Linked DNA regions of Homo sapiens: regions 1, 3, 4 and 5 are each linked to region 2. Evidence: promoter capture Hi-C in 16 types of primary human blood cells and fetal thymus (Javierre and others, 2016). All regions are on one chromosome and are shown on one strand. The core of a region is centred on a gene start or on the middle of the fragment in contact, and the rest is flanking DNA. Distances in the headings are between cores, read along the strand shown. Region 1 overlaps LINGO2 (leucine rich repeat and Ig domain containing 2). Region 2 holds the start of EQTN (equatorin). Region 3 overlaps LINGO2 (leucine rich repeat and Ig domain containing 2). Region 4 overlaps LINGO2 (leucine rich repeat and Ig domain containing 2). Region 5 overlaps LINGO2 (leucine rich repeat and Ig domain containing 2).

Region 1 (2,721 bases), core at 45-2,544, 740 kb before region 2:
CTGAACAAATGTCCTTCAAGTGAACTATACATGACTTGGGTTGCATTCACTTCAAACTCTCACTGAAGTCAGCTACATCTTCTGTCTTCCTAACGAATTTAGCAGATTATCCTGGTTATACTTTTCAATAAGTTTCACACATGATGTGAGCTTTGTAAGGATGGTATTAAATTGGGGCAGAATAGAAACACTGCAAAAAATTTTGAAGTAATTTTTTTTTTGCCATTATAAAAGTAATCCATCCTCAAAATATAAAAAAACTAGGAGAGAAAGCATCAGTCCATGATGAAATTACCTAATTGACATTTTGGTGTGTTTACTTTCCAGTAGCCTTTTACAACTATACCGTGGCAGTTTATTCTCCTAGTGCTCTGCCTCCCCTTCCCACCAACTAAAGCTGTTGATGGTTCTCTCCTGCACAGGTTTCAGTAGGGCAGAACAGCAGGCCAGTGCAAGTGGGCAAGAACCTTTGATGACTGCTAATAAGAGATCCCCCTCCCTAGCATTGCCACAGTGTCTCCAACATGCTCCCATTTCGGAGGGTACTGACTCTTGCCCCACCCCCATCACTGAGCTTCTTTTGACTCTGGAATGTAACATGTATAGTTCTGAAGACAAGCCATAGGAATTCAATGAGATTTGGTAAAATTCATGCACACCTATTTAGTGTAACACACTGTGCAAGCCCACTGAACATTTGCAAAGGGAATGGAAGGCACAATTCACATACGCAACTAACAACGTAAGTAAAGGGATCATAGCAGCAAATGCAGAGGGTTTCAGGCTTTGTATTAGCTGCAACAGTACTGGCTTCTGTCTACACCATGTTTTCTAGTATTCTAGAACATTTCTCATCTGATTTGAGAGCCGCAAGGATTTCATATGGATAAATTATCAGAGAAAGAATGAAGCTGACTGGGATGCTGTCTCCTAAAACTTTCAGGCACAAATCTTTCTCAGACAAAAGAAGGCAGCCGCCTGATGGAAAACTTTATTTTAAAATTGTATCCCTTCTGTTGTACAGTGTTTCCCTGATGTGGCACCATCTACTAGACCCAAACCAAAGTAGAACTTTTCAGGGACACAGTGTCCATTGTCATGGGGTGAAAATGTGGAGTGTTTCTGGCAGGATCTATGTCACTGTATGCTCACTCATGGGTTATAGGTTTTCATTCCAAGATTCCTGGTCTGTCGCCAACTAGTTCTGGGACGATGGGCAGGATGTTTGAACATTTTGGGTCTCAGTGTTTTCATCTGTAAAAGGGACTAAAAACATTTATGTTGCCTCCTTTGTCAAGCTGCTTTCAGTACTGAATGAGAATGCCCAAAGGCACTGAGAGATGGAAGATATTTCTGGCACCTGGTTCTCTTAAGCTGTAACTAGATTCACCATTGATTGCCTGGAATCATAAGGCATGAGCAGTTAGTTATGTGAATCATATGTAATGTTGACAAAGACAGGAATCTCCCTCTGCTAAGGCAGTGGGAGCCCATCTGTGATCAGCATTCCTATAGCCCTGGAGACTGAGGTGGGGTGCTGGGCAGCGAGGGCAGGCAGTGTGTGCGCTTTCATAATAGAGCAACAAATGCTTCCTCAAACCAAGTACCAAGAGAAAACAGCCTGCACCTGGACCTGGGTTTTTATCATGTTGTATTTTTTTTTTAAGACTTGAATTAGATCCTGTGTGGAATTGTGAATGCCCATATTACCTACTTCATGACAGGACAGCAGAGCAATCGGTTTTCAAAGGCCAAAGCTGTTTTTATTTTCCCCCCAGCTCTGCGGTTTTTCTTTGCTGTCTTCATCCCAGTGAGGCTTTCCCCCCCCACCCCTCATTTTGAGTCAGCAGACTGCTAGTAACAAAGGTACCCAGCTGTTCTCTGAGCCCTAATCTCCAAACAACTTTTAATAGGTACTGCCTGCCTGGCACACAGTTGGCTGTCACAATAATACACCAGATTGAAGGTATTTTAAGGAGGATTTGGAGCATCATGGTGAAGCGTGGTTTTACCCAACAGTTTAAGAATAGAATCACTAATATCTCTCTGTAATGATCTGTTTTCCTTTGATAGACAAGTGTGTGTTCTGGACAGCTTGCTGCCATACAGCACTGAAAGGGAGCTGGCAGAGGTCTCCCAGGTATTCCCAATCAGCCCTGGACAAACAATAATCGGCTTAGCCGACACAGACAGAGCAGATCATAATTATCTCAACTAATCTCATCCCAAAACCAATGTTGTGTGGCAGACACCAGACTGTCCCCACTTTAAAGATGAGGAAAGTGAGTGAGAAGTAGCTAAGGTCACACAGCAAGTAAGTGGCAGATCCTAGATTCCTACTAAAGCAATCTGATGCCATCAAAATCCATCAGCTTTTTAGAAATTTGTAAGGTGATGGATTCAATTAGATTGATTTAATCATTCCACAATGTAAACATAAGTCAAAACATATTGTAACCCATAAATATAATTATGTCAATGTTAAATTTTTTAAAAATTGTAAAAAAAAAAAAAAACCATCCTGTTTTTCTACTGAAGTGGGTATAAAGAGACTGCTTAATATATGCAAAACAAGGTTAAACATGGTGGATGGTCCCATTTTATTTAGTGAGTATCTCCAAAGCTAACACAAGCCCACCACTTAAATTTTTAATATATCAGAGAAATCACATCCTTTATATAGTCTCGGCCTCCAGGAAGATGAGTGTTTCTCCCATTTTG
Region 2 (2,700 bases), core at 182-2,681:
TATGTTGGGTTCAATATACACTACCGGGTGATGGGCAGACTAAAATCTCAGCTTTCACCACTATACAATTCATCAATGCAACCAAGAACCACTTGGACCCCAAAAGCCATATGAAATATAAATACATATAAGACCTATATTTTATATATTATATAATTATATATTTTATAAAATATATAATATATTTATATAACTAATATATAATATGTTATTATTAATTATTTATATAATATAGGCCTTAAAATCTAAAAATGACCAGTTTTAGAGAACTTTTCTAAAGAATTATAGTTAAGATAATCCATTAACCAGAACTTGTAGACTTGTAGGGCATTTGGCATCAGAACTTGGTTTTTCTGCCTAGTTGTTTTTTTTGTTTTGTTTTTTGTTTTTTGTTTTTTTTTTTGGAGACAGAGACTCACTTCTTCACCCAGGCTGGAGTGCAGTGGTGTGATCTCGGCTCGCTGCAAACTCTGCCTCCCATGTTCAAGCACGTGGGCCACCACGCCTGGCTAACTTTTGTATTTTTAGTAGAGATGAGGTTTCACCATGTTGCCCAGGGTGGTCTTGAACTCCTGACCTCAAGTGATCTGCCCACCTCAGCCTCCCAAAGTGCTGGGATTACAGGTGTGAGCCACTGCGTCCAGCCTCTGACTAGTTTTTAAAAGATATTTTTATTGCATTTATCCAAGAAAACACATCATATTGCAATGCTTTGAGAAACAAAAAGATCTGTTCTCATTTTACTCTTAACAATATTAATGGTTGCAGGGAGCCGAAGGCTCGTGGGACGTGAGCCACTCAGCATTCCACTGGAGGCTATATGATCAAACAGCAAACTGTTTATTATGAATGCAGGATGTGGGCAAACTCACGACTGCTCCTGCCCACAGAAGGTTTGCTGGAGGCAATCACTCCCTGGCACCGAGGTTATCTACTGCGACATCTAGAGAATGCAGTGTTGCATGCCTACTCTGGACCGGGCAGCTGACCCCTTCTTCCATCCTCCTTCTCACTATCTCTCTTGCCTAATAAATACAGAGGGCTGTGTAAAGCTCAGGGCCCTTGCCCACTAGAGGCAAGGTGCCCCCGACCCCTTCTTCCAAATATACTCTTTTGTCTTTGTCTTTTATTCCCGCATTCGTCCCCCTTTGTTCAGTCCCCTAGGTCCGTGCGGGTTACAAGTGGCACCCTGACTAGCCACAGAATCGAGTGCTCTACAAATGGTTCTTTAAAATCCAGAGCCGAGTAATTAACATTCTTTTATGAAAACACACTTATTAACTTTCAAAGAAAATCTTGTAATGGTTTATTTAAAAAATAACTAAAAACCATTATAGTACCTGAGATAAAGCAGTCTTCAGACTGAGTCACAAAGCTGTTGGGAACCCCCACCCCCACCAACATTCTGATGCCCATCTGACAGTGATGTCATAATGTCCTAGTTAGACACAGGACCTGCTGGGCCACAGAAAGGAGGCTCTGGGTAGACGCACTAGATTACTGGATAAATCACTTCAATTTCCCAATGAATTTTATATTGTTTATTTTTATACCTGGAGTTTTTTCCTTAAAAAGTAGCACTTTGAAGCCTACTATTGAAGGTGAGAGAGCATTTAAAACTTTTATAAAAATAGTAGGTAAGAAGGATGACCCATAATCATGAAAAATTGGTATGTGGCAGTTTTCTACAGGAGGATATAAACTTTATTGTTGGAGCTATGGTATGTTTTAGATTTTAAATCTCTGCCTCTAATCCTTTGTGAAAAAAATGCAGTTAGAAAAAGAAAGCAGTAAAAGAAATCAACATATTTCTGATCTATGGTGTGTGATACTTTTTTTTAGCATTGCCTAATGTGCTACCTTTAAATGAAGATGTTAATAAGCAGGAAGAAAAGAATGAAGATCATACTCCCAATTATGCTCCTGCTAATGAGAAAAATGGCAATTATTATAAAGATATAAAACAATGTAAGTCTTTAAAGTGAATAGAAATGTATATGCAAAAGTTGATTATCCTGGTTTCACTTAAGTGTCCTTTTTAAATTTCCATCATTTCCCCCTGTATTTGTTGGGTATTTTATTTCTACTTCTGTGACCTGCCTGTTCATACCCTTGCCCATTTTTCCATTAGGTTGTATTTTCATTTCTTTTTAAGGGCTCTTTTTATGTAGAATATATTAATCCTTTTTACGGTAAAAGTAATAAATGTTTTCTGCCAAGATGCTGCTTATCTTTAAGGCTTATTTTATTTTATTGTATCGTATTCAGTTTTTGAGACAGAGTCTTGCTCTGTCACCCAGGCTGGAGTGCAGTGGCACGACCATGGCTCACTGCAGCCAGCCTTGACCTCCCAGGGTTCAAGCAGTCCTACCACCTCAGCCTTCCGAGTAGCTGGAACTATAGGCACATGCCATCACACCAAGCTAATTTTTGTATTTTTTTTGTAGAAACGGTGTTTCATCATGTTGCCCAGGCTGGTCTCCAACTCCTGGGCTCAAGCGATTCACCCATCTCACCCTCCCAAAGTGCTAGGATTACAGGTGCGAGCCACCACACCTGGCCAAGCCTGTTTAAGTATCTTTAATAACTGAGAAGATTTCAAGTTTTATAATATCAGTTCTGTTTATTTATTTCTTTATAATCTCTGCATTTTGTGTCTTGCCTAAGCAGGCTTTATCCAGTCCAAAATATTGTTTTCTT
Region 3 (2,700 bases), core at 157-2,656, 800 kb before region 2:
CAAGTTTTTAGTTCCTCATCAGCATGTGTTCATTTCTCTCTACTTCACATAACATTGTTCAAATCTCCATGTTAGCATTTACTACATTTTACTCTGATTTATCTATTTAAGCCCTCTGCTTACCTCCCTCTAAACTATGAGTTAGCTGTTTGAAAGCAGGGAGCATTGCATTTGTCTCTGCATATCTAGTGCCTAGCACATGCTAAGAGCTCACATTGTAAGAGATTTTTGTTGCTCTGAAATGTGTGGTGCACCTGCTATTACAGAAAGAGAAGCTTTCATGGGGACTCTATTGATTTTATTCATGATTTTATGTGTCAAATAATTTTGAACTTCCAATATATTTTAGGTACGATGCTAGGTGTGAAGTATATACCAGTGAATAAGACAATGTTTGCCCCCAGAGCTTTCAATCTAATGGGAAAACAGATTTGAAACAAATACTTCCACAATAATATTTTGAATATGATCTTGTTATGTGCTAAGAGCAGAAGTACATGATGCTATGATAGCAGAGAACACAGTAGATTTTCAGAGGTAAAAACATATTATTTGTAGAAGTAATATGATCACACTTGTAAAATGTGCAGCAATCAACTGAGTGAAAGAACATTCAGACAGAGGGAGCAGCATTAGTAAAGGGTCTGAGTTGAACAAGAGGACAGGAGGGCAAGAGCATGGCAACTTTGGGGGCAGTGGTGGAGAATGAAGTTGGAGAAGTAGGTTTTTTAAGACCAGATTTCTCCTGGCCTCAAAAGCCATTTTATCAGTGTGAATCAATATTTCATGAGGATAGTTTGGGTGTTAAGAGTGTTAAAGACTAATATTATCATATTTGCCTTTTAAAAATCATTCTTGCTTCAATAGAGAGTAGAACAAACATAATTCTGAGGTGACAGAACAGTATTGTGATAGTCCAAGTAGATACAGTGGTGGCTTGGGCCAGGATGGTGTCAGCTAAGATGGAGAGATTGGACAGTATCAATTTATCCCAATGGCTAAGTCAGTGAGAACTCTTCATTGATTCTATGTAGGAAAAAAGGGAGAAGATGAAGCCTAAGCTTCTTCTCCACTTGTCCACGTGGTATTTAAGCTTCCATCATGGAACAAACATTAGGGTATAAGAAAACAAAACAAAAAACAAGAAAGCACAGACAAATTGTATAAATATTTTTCAAAAATAAAAAGCCTTTTTGTTTGCTGATATTTTGTTGTATTTATTCAAATCCGTGAATTGGCACTTTAAAATAATCACTAGATGCTTTGCTCCACTGATAGTCAGTCCCAGGACACACAATAGGGGCTATGGCTTTTAGGTACAGATGAAAGATACCAAAAAAAAATCACCTGTAAGGAACCTTGTGGAGCTTTCAGATATTATGTTAATTTAACTAGTAATACTAATGTTATTGCTACTGTCCTATCTAGTACATACAGTCTTTCTATGCTATTAGCATAATGTTTTGAATTCAGAATCAATGTGACCTGAAGTTCCTATGGGTTTGTTTTCATTCCCTTACCCACCAGCTTCAGTGTAGCATGAAATACATTTCAAAGCCAGCCAAAAAGCCTAACTGAAGGTTACACAGGATGTTCACCCCATTTTTTTCAATAACACAAACATATTCACCATTTCCTCCCATATCAGCACCATCCATTATCAAAACATTCTGTATCTCAAATAAGCTGTGGACCCCTGTCAAGACAGGTGCAAGCTTTGCCTGCTCCACTTGACATATTCTGTGTAACATTCTCATTGTTTTGTGAACTCTTGATATTTTATAATGCTTAACACCTACCAACTGGTACTCTAAGCATCTCCACATGGGGCTTAGCATTCTTGACTCTTATAATTCACATGTGCCTTGGCCAGTGACCAGTATCCACACATAAAAATATCAGAATAACACAGAGGATATTTAGTATATAGACGAAAAAAGAAAGATCCATGCCTGAAGGATGTAACTACCCTACATCAGGAAAGGCCAGGTGCTAAGAAGTATATAATCTGATGTGAAAGTGCTAAGCAGACAGCAAGCCAAATTTGTGGTGCAGGTTTAGGAAACAGACAGTGACAAAGAAATATGACATGTTATAGATTTATTGATATATAATTCACATATTATACAATTCACCCATTAAAACGTAAAATTCAATGGTTTTTGGTATAGAGTTTTTTTTTGCTTTTTGTTTTTTGTTTTTTGTTTTTGACAGAGTTCGGCTCTGTCACCCAGGCTGGAGTGCAGTAGCAAGATCTCAGCTCACTGCAACCTCAGCCTCCTGCGTTCAAGCGATTCTTCTGCCTCAGCCTCCCTAGTAGCTGGGACCACAGGTGGATGCCACCACACCCAGCTAATTTTTGTATTTTCAGTAGACATGGAGTTTCACCATGTTGGTCAGACTAGTCTCAAATTCCTGACCTCAAGTGATGCACTCTCCACGGCCTCCCGTAGTATTGGGATTACAGGCATGAGCCACTGCACCTGGACTTTGGTATCGATTTTTAAAAACATCTTTTTATTAAAATAGAATGAATGAAGAGAAGCATTGGCTAAGCAAGGCCTGTTGGCAGACTTTCCTTAAACTAGGTATCCAGCTCATCTCATCCTTTCCCTATAAGCTCCCTTCAATTTTTTTTAAGAGGTTGTGTATCTTTTATTTTTTTATTTCATTATTATTATATTTTAAGTTTTAGGGTAC
Region 4 (2,700 bases), core at 129-2,628, 760 kb before region 2:
TAATCCTCAAAAGCGCTTACTGGCAAATGGTTCCATAATTAAATAAGCTTGAGAAAGGCTGAATATGCTGTTTCCCTTTTGTAGATTTACAATACACATTATCATAAACAGGGTTCTGAGAAATCCTGCAATAAAAAAAAAAAACTTTACTTTTGCTTAACTTATTGGTTGCCAAATGCGTTAAATGTGGAATATATTTCAGCCCAAATCAGTTGGAATACCTCAGAAAAAAATAGTGTAGCCAGCATCTTAGTAGAACAGGCATAGACATCTTGGGTTAAGTCAGGTTTAACTTTTTGGTCTAACTGCATTCATTCATAAGCGCAACAGCCACTACTTCAAAATTAGAATAACAATCATTACATTATCATGTAGATTTTCATTTTATTTCTTGGTACTCTTTAGTTATTTTATATAGAATCATCAACACTATGGAAAGTGTTTCTGTGATTAACCTAAACCAAGACACTCTCTTAAAATCCAATATAATATCAAATTATGTGACAATTATGTAGCATGCTTAATCCAAGGTCATTTCAGTTTCTATCATTCTTGTATTTTAAAAAAGCATGAACTGAGAATTTGCACATGTCAAAGACACAATGACACTTCATTATAAAAGAAATGCCTAACAACTTAGCTTCTCTCTGTATATATCAGAATTCTTTGGAGTTGCAAGTGACGAAAGTAAAAGTCAAGCTTAAGCCACAGGCCCTGTCTCTTCTGCTCCATACATCTGCAGAACAGCTGGTGACATATCTAAGATCATTCTTAGAGCTGCAGATCCTAAATTATGGTTTTCTTGCTAGGTCCTGCCAGGGGCTAATTGGCTTTAGCCAATCACTGTGTAGGGTGCTGTATTCAGGTCTGAGCTGTATGCAAATCACTGAGGTATCCCTGGGATGTGAAGGTGGGTGGTGTAGATGAGAAGAACCACATGATATTCATTAAAGAGTATGGGAAACTAGTTTTCCCATGGAAAGAGTGCTGAGACAGGACAAAAACAATATTTAACTGATGGAGGCTGAAAGAATGAGGGTCGTGATCTACTGAATATACCACTGGAGGCTGTACGAGTAAACAGCAAACTGTTTCTCATAAATGCAAAATGTCAGCAAACTGACAAATTGAGTCTGCCACCCAGAAGGAATGCCGAGGGCAGTCACGCCCCAAGTGCAGTGTTTCTTGCCATTAGGCACATCTGAAGCCTGTTAGTAATAATATAAACCTGTTATCAATTAAGCAGCCGACCAATCGTTACCTGCTCCGCCCTGCTCTTGCTACACAATAAATAGGAAGGGCGGTAGACGCTCAGAGGTTGCCTTTGCTCACTGAAAGCGGGGAGCTCCTTTCTTTTTTCTCTGGATCTTTCCTTTAAAATAGTTTCTTTTGTCTTAAGTTTTCATTTCTATGTTCTTTCTTTTCGTCTCATAATGAAGGTCTCAAGTAGTAACAATAGTAACTGTTGTAATGATAGATTCAAGTAGTAACTGTCTTAGTGAGGGTCTCGAGAAGTAATCGTGGTAATCAGCCACATTTAACTTTTGCCAAATGCCTCCTTCGAAACCAAAGTAAGTTGTGAACAGACTAAGCAAGAAGACTTTTTTAGATAAAACTATATCCATAGGCTTCAAATAGAACTAAAGATAGCAATTTGAACTACTTAAACTTCCAAGAGAGACTTGTCTTTGAGTACATATCTTTTAAAGAATTTTAAGTAACAGGTAGTTAACAAAGAAGCATTTTGTTTTTTGACAATCTAGCAAACCTAACAAACTTAATAGCAAGACGCCGTTTTTATGTAAGCCTATGATAGAGAGAAAACATTTTGAGAAATTAGACTGAAGCCTTACACTTCGAACGAAGAATTCCAATTCAAAGTGGAAGTCACAGCCAATCCACAGAAGTACCTTACATTTTCCTAAAAGTGAACCTTACTCTCTTTTTACAAGTTCTTATTTTATGCAAACAGACTTGCTGCAAATGCCCTTATACCCAACAGAAATGTGGCAATAGCTAAAATAGCCTGGCCATTCAGACTCCTTGGCTGAAGCTTGTTTAGAGTTTATTTGAGCAGCCCTTTTCCATCCACCTGTACCTGTTCTATCAAGAAATTACTAAGCCATTTAAAACACATGTTATAAGCAACTACAGGGAAAAGGAAATCAGTTTGAGGCTTCTACCTTATTCGTAAGTTATTTTCACGTTCATAAGAAATTGTCTGCAGAAACTTAAAAAATTAAGCCAATTTACATAAGGATAAACCACAAGGAAAACAAAAGACTTCAGCATTTTGCTTTGAAATGCTTTCTGTAAGTAAAGCATTCTCCGGTTTTTGGAAATTTTTGATTACCATCTAGCTTCCCTCTGGGAGGCTATATATATTTTTTTTGCAAGTTTGTGCGTTTTGTTTTAATCAGAAAGCAAATTAAATTTCAGTAAAGCTTATGTAAGGAGTATTCACATTTAAGAGGAAAGAAGACTGTAGCTTTGTAGTATGAGGCATACAAAAAACAGGAATATGTGAAAGTAGTGCTTGGATATTTGAAAAGGCTCCATTTCTAAAATAAGGCATAACAACCTAAGGCTTAGATTTAGTATAGTAAACTTAAGGAAATATTGAAAATTAAAAATTAAGTTATAGCCTGGAATATGATCACTTATAATATGGTATTTGTGGATATCAATATAAGCTATTGG
Region 5 (2,700 bases), core at 100-2,599, 780 kb before region 2:
GTGCTGGGATTACGGGCATGAGCCACCACGCCCGGCAGAGTCTAGAGATCTTAACCCAAAATAAAGCAAGGTCAATATAACATAATTTGTCAATAAGGCATATATGGTAGCTCCTAGGATCACTATTCTTTTTCCATGTGCTCACAAATCCTAAAAAAAAATAGTCTATTTAAAAATCAGATTTAGACATTTCTTTAAGTTCTCTAAAGTTTTTTTCATCATCATATTGTCCTAATCAGTCCTTTAATACCTATTCTGCTCTCCATATTCCTCAAACATTGCTGGTAGCAACTCTGCAAACTAAACTGCACATCCTCTCAGTTGCCCTGCATGCCTGCAGTTCTATCTGGGCAGGAGACACACACTTCCTGAGTGTTAACTCATCTTGTTGGGCTTCAATTTCCTCTCGCAAATATCTGCTCCTCTTACTAGCCTGACCATCCTTCTCACTGGCAGAAATGATGGAATATAAATAGGAGTAAAAGGGTTATGTTTTTCTCTGTCAATACATTACCAGCATATTTTAAGGCAAGAGCCATTATTTATTTGTTTATTTGTTAAGCTTTAAGTTTTACAAAAAAAGATATGTTAAACCACCACTTAACCATAACACATATGGCAGACAGATTACAACCACATCATTCTCTAGAGTTGACGCTTAATCATGAAATCAGGCCTGCTCTTTTCCTTCAAAGAAGCAGTAGAGTAGGTTCATTTTCACAAAGACAAGTAACTGAAAATTGAGCATGAGGTTATTAGATTGAGGATTCTTCCTTTTCTTATCTTTCTTTTCTACTTCTTTCTTCTTTCTTCTCTTTCTTTTTTTACAACCATATCAAATAATAAAGTAAAACCATTGAAAAATCTCTAGATAACATTGGAGTGGGTTTTGGTTTTTATTTTTTTGCATCTTTTCTACTCAATTTAGCTGACATTTTAATGAAACTACTCTTCCCCAAGTAATTAAATAGCATACTTGCATTGCAATTGCCTTCATAGCCTGAGAGTTTTTGTTATCTCTATGAAAAAAATAAGATAATAGTTTTGATGCATTTACTTAAATAGGAACATGGGTTCCCAGAACACAGATGGACTTAATAATAGTTTTAAGTGAATGAATGAATCCATGAGTGAATAAAATGTGACAAATGTATATAAAGTGTATACATGTGGATTCATAAGCTGTCCAACCCGTATCCTTTGCTATAAGATAGTATACAAAATGGGAGCACATTTTTGTAAGACTCACTTGATTAGATGAAAATATATTTCATGATTTTCTGGGAAATAATTCATCATACTCAACAAACTCTATCTCTTTACTGGGCCTTACTCAACTCTTACTTCCTATCTAAGATTTTGTGGTACTTGTATGTATGTATACCATTTAGTGGAAACACATCTTGGTGGTCCATTGACTGTCAGTTTTCTTGTGATTTCAGACTGGTTTTTATTTTTCTGACCACATGTTCACATCGCCAAAATGTTTTTGTTTTAGAGTCACTTACTGTAGTTTTCTATGGGGTAGAAACCAGTAAGCTGTGCAGTCAAACTTCATTAAGTCACGTCAAAATGTTGGTAAAAAGTACCCCTACTTACTTCTGTCACTATGCATTCCCATTTTCAACCTTACTGCACAATTTCCAATGTCTTTTGTTGGAAACCAGAACAAACAATGAAATAATAGACATTAGAATTTCAAGAATGAACCCCTTGGTTTATCCCCTAAAAGCAGCCAGAGGGGAAAAGATGGCTCCCCTACAAAGCATCAGAAATGAGTTTGACAGGTAACTTTTCACCAACAACTGTGGAATCCAGAAGCCAGTGGAATGGACCTTTAATGTGCTCCAAAGATAGCTGACAATCAAAAATTTGAAACCCAATAAAACTATGGTTTTAAGAACCAGAGGGAAATAAATTCCATTCCAGAATTTTTTTTTAATTTATCAGCAAAAGACCTTAACTTCCTAGAGAATGTTTCAGAAGTAAATAATTGACATCAGAGAAAATCTGACATGAAGAAAGGAATGTGATCAAAAATAAAATAAGACATACTTGTTGGGAGATTTAAACCTATTCTTAAAAATAAACATCATAACATCTAACTTGTTGGACTAAAATGAAAAAAAAAGCTTGAGGTAAAATATAAAAAAGCTATGCAATGTAAGCTAGGAAGAGATCAGAATTAAAATGTTTTCAGATATGTTTACTGTTTGGGGGGAAGTTAAAGACACTGATTAACTTTAGATTTTATTAAGTATGCATGTTCATGCTTCAATGGTATCAATTAACAGAATGGAGCTAGTGTATTTAAATACCAAACCAGTAGGTATAAAAAGAAATGAGAAACAAAAAGATCAACCAAACATATTTTCAGTTAAAATCCCAATACAGTTCTAAGATAGTATTTAGAAGAGCAAAGGCTCTGAAAATATAATTTGTGAAGAAAATGTGGGGTGAATTGTGGTACCAGATTTTAAAGATTGATTTTAAAACAATAGTAATTAAGACAGGATATCCTGCTGCAGGAATAGACAAATAGCATGTATGACAGGCATAATATTGCAATTATTAGGAAGAAGATGAGCCATTCAATAGATATTGCTAGAATAATTGTTAATCTATATGGGAAAAAGGCATATTTACTTCAAACTAATGCACAGCACAAAAAGCAAAAATATTAAAGGAAAAAATGGACAA

Evidence for each region. Contacts are between HindIII fragments. The CHiCAGO score rates a contact against its expected background, and 5 or more counts as called.
Region 1: a contact is called between a fragment that was not itself captured here and the fragment with the promoter of EQTN in region 2, in 1 of 17 cell types (neutrophils). The highest score is 6.2, in neutrophils.
Region 3: a fragment that was not itself captured here is called in contact with the fragment with the promoter of EQTN in region 2 in 1 of 17 cell types (M2 macrophages); the score reaches 6.0 in M2 macrophages.
Region 4: a fragment that was not itself captured here is called in contact with the fragment with the promoter of EQTN in region 2 in 1 of 17 cell types (M0 macrophages); the score reaches 5.1 in M0 macrophages.
Region 5: a fragment that was not itself captured here is called in contact with the fragment with the promoter of EQTN in region 2 in 1 of 17 cell types (M2 macrophages); the score reaches 6.2 in M2 macrophages.

The regions. Positions count from the first base shown.
Region 1 is chr9:28,031,149-28,033,869 of GRCh38, reverse strand. All of the region lies in intron 6 of LINGO2 (leucine rich repeat and Ig domain containing 2), which reads left to right. Among named protein-coding and RNA genes, the nearest start is that of C9orf72, 460 kb to the right of the region's middle. The HindIII fragment of the contact is 2,911 bases long and covers 1-2,721 here.
Region 2 is chr9:27,295,881-27,298,580 of GRCh38, reverse strand. EQTN (equatorin) reads left to right here and starts at 1,431. Exons shown (of 8, transcript NM_020641.3): 1 at 1,431-1,601; 2 at 1,843-1,968. The coding sequence starts at 1,526. The HindIII fragment of the contact is 8,347 bases long and covers 1-2,700 here.
Region 3 is chr9:28,097,812-28,100,511 of GRCh38, reverse strand. All of the region lies in intron 6 of LINGO2 (leucine rich repeat and Ig domain containing 2), which reads left to right. Among named protein-coding and RNA genes, the nearest start is that of C9orf72, 530 kb to the right of the region's middle. The HindIII fragment of the contact is 622 bases long and covers 1,096-1,717 here.
Region 4 is chr9:28,054,725-28,057,424 of GRCh38, reverse strand. The region is part of intron 6 of LINGO2 (leucine rich repeat and Ig domain containing 2); the gene reads left to right. Among named protein-coding and RNA genes, the nearest start is that of C9orf72, 480 kb to the right of the region's middle. The HindIII fragment of the contact is 1,354 bases long and covers 702-2,055 here.
Region 5 is chr9:28,075,906-28,078,605 of GRCh38, reverse strand. The region is part of intron 6 of LINGO2 (leucine rich repeat and Ig domain containing 2); the gene reads left to right. Among named protein-coding and RNA genes, the nearest start is that of C9orf72, 500 kb to the right of the region's middle. The HindIII fragment of the contact is 1,570 bases long and covers 565-2,134 here.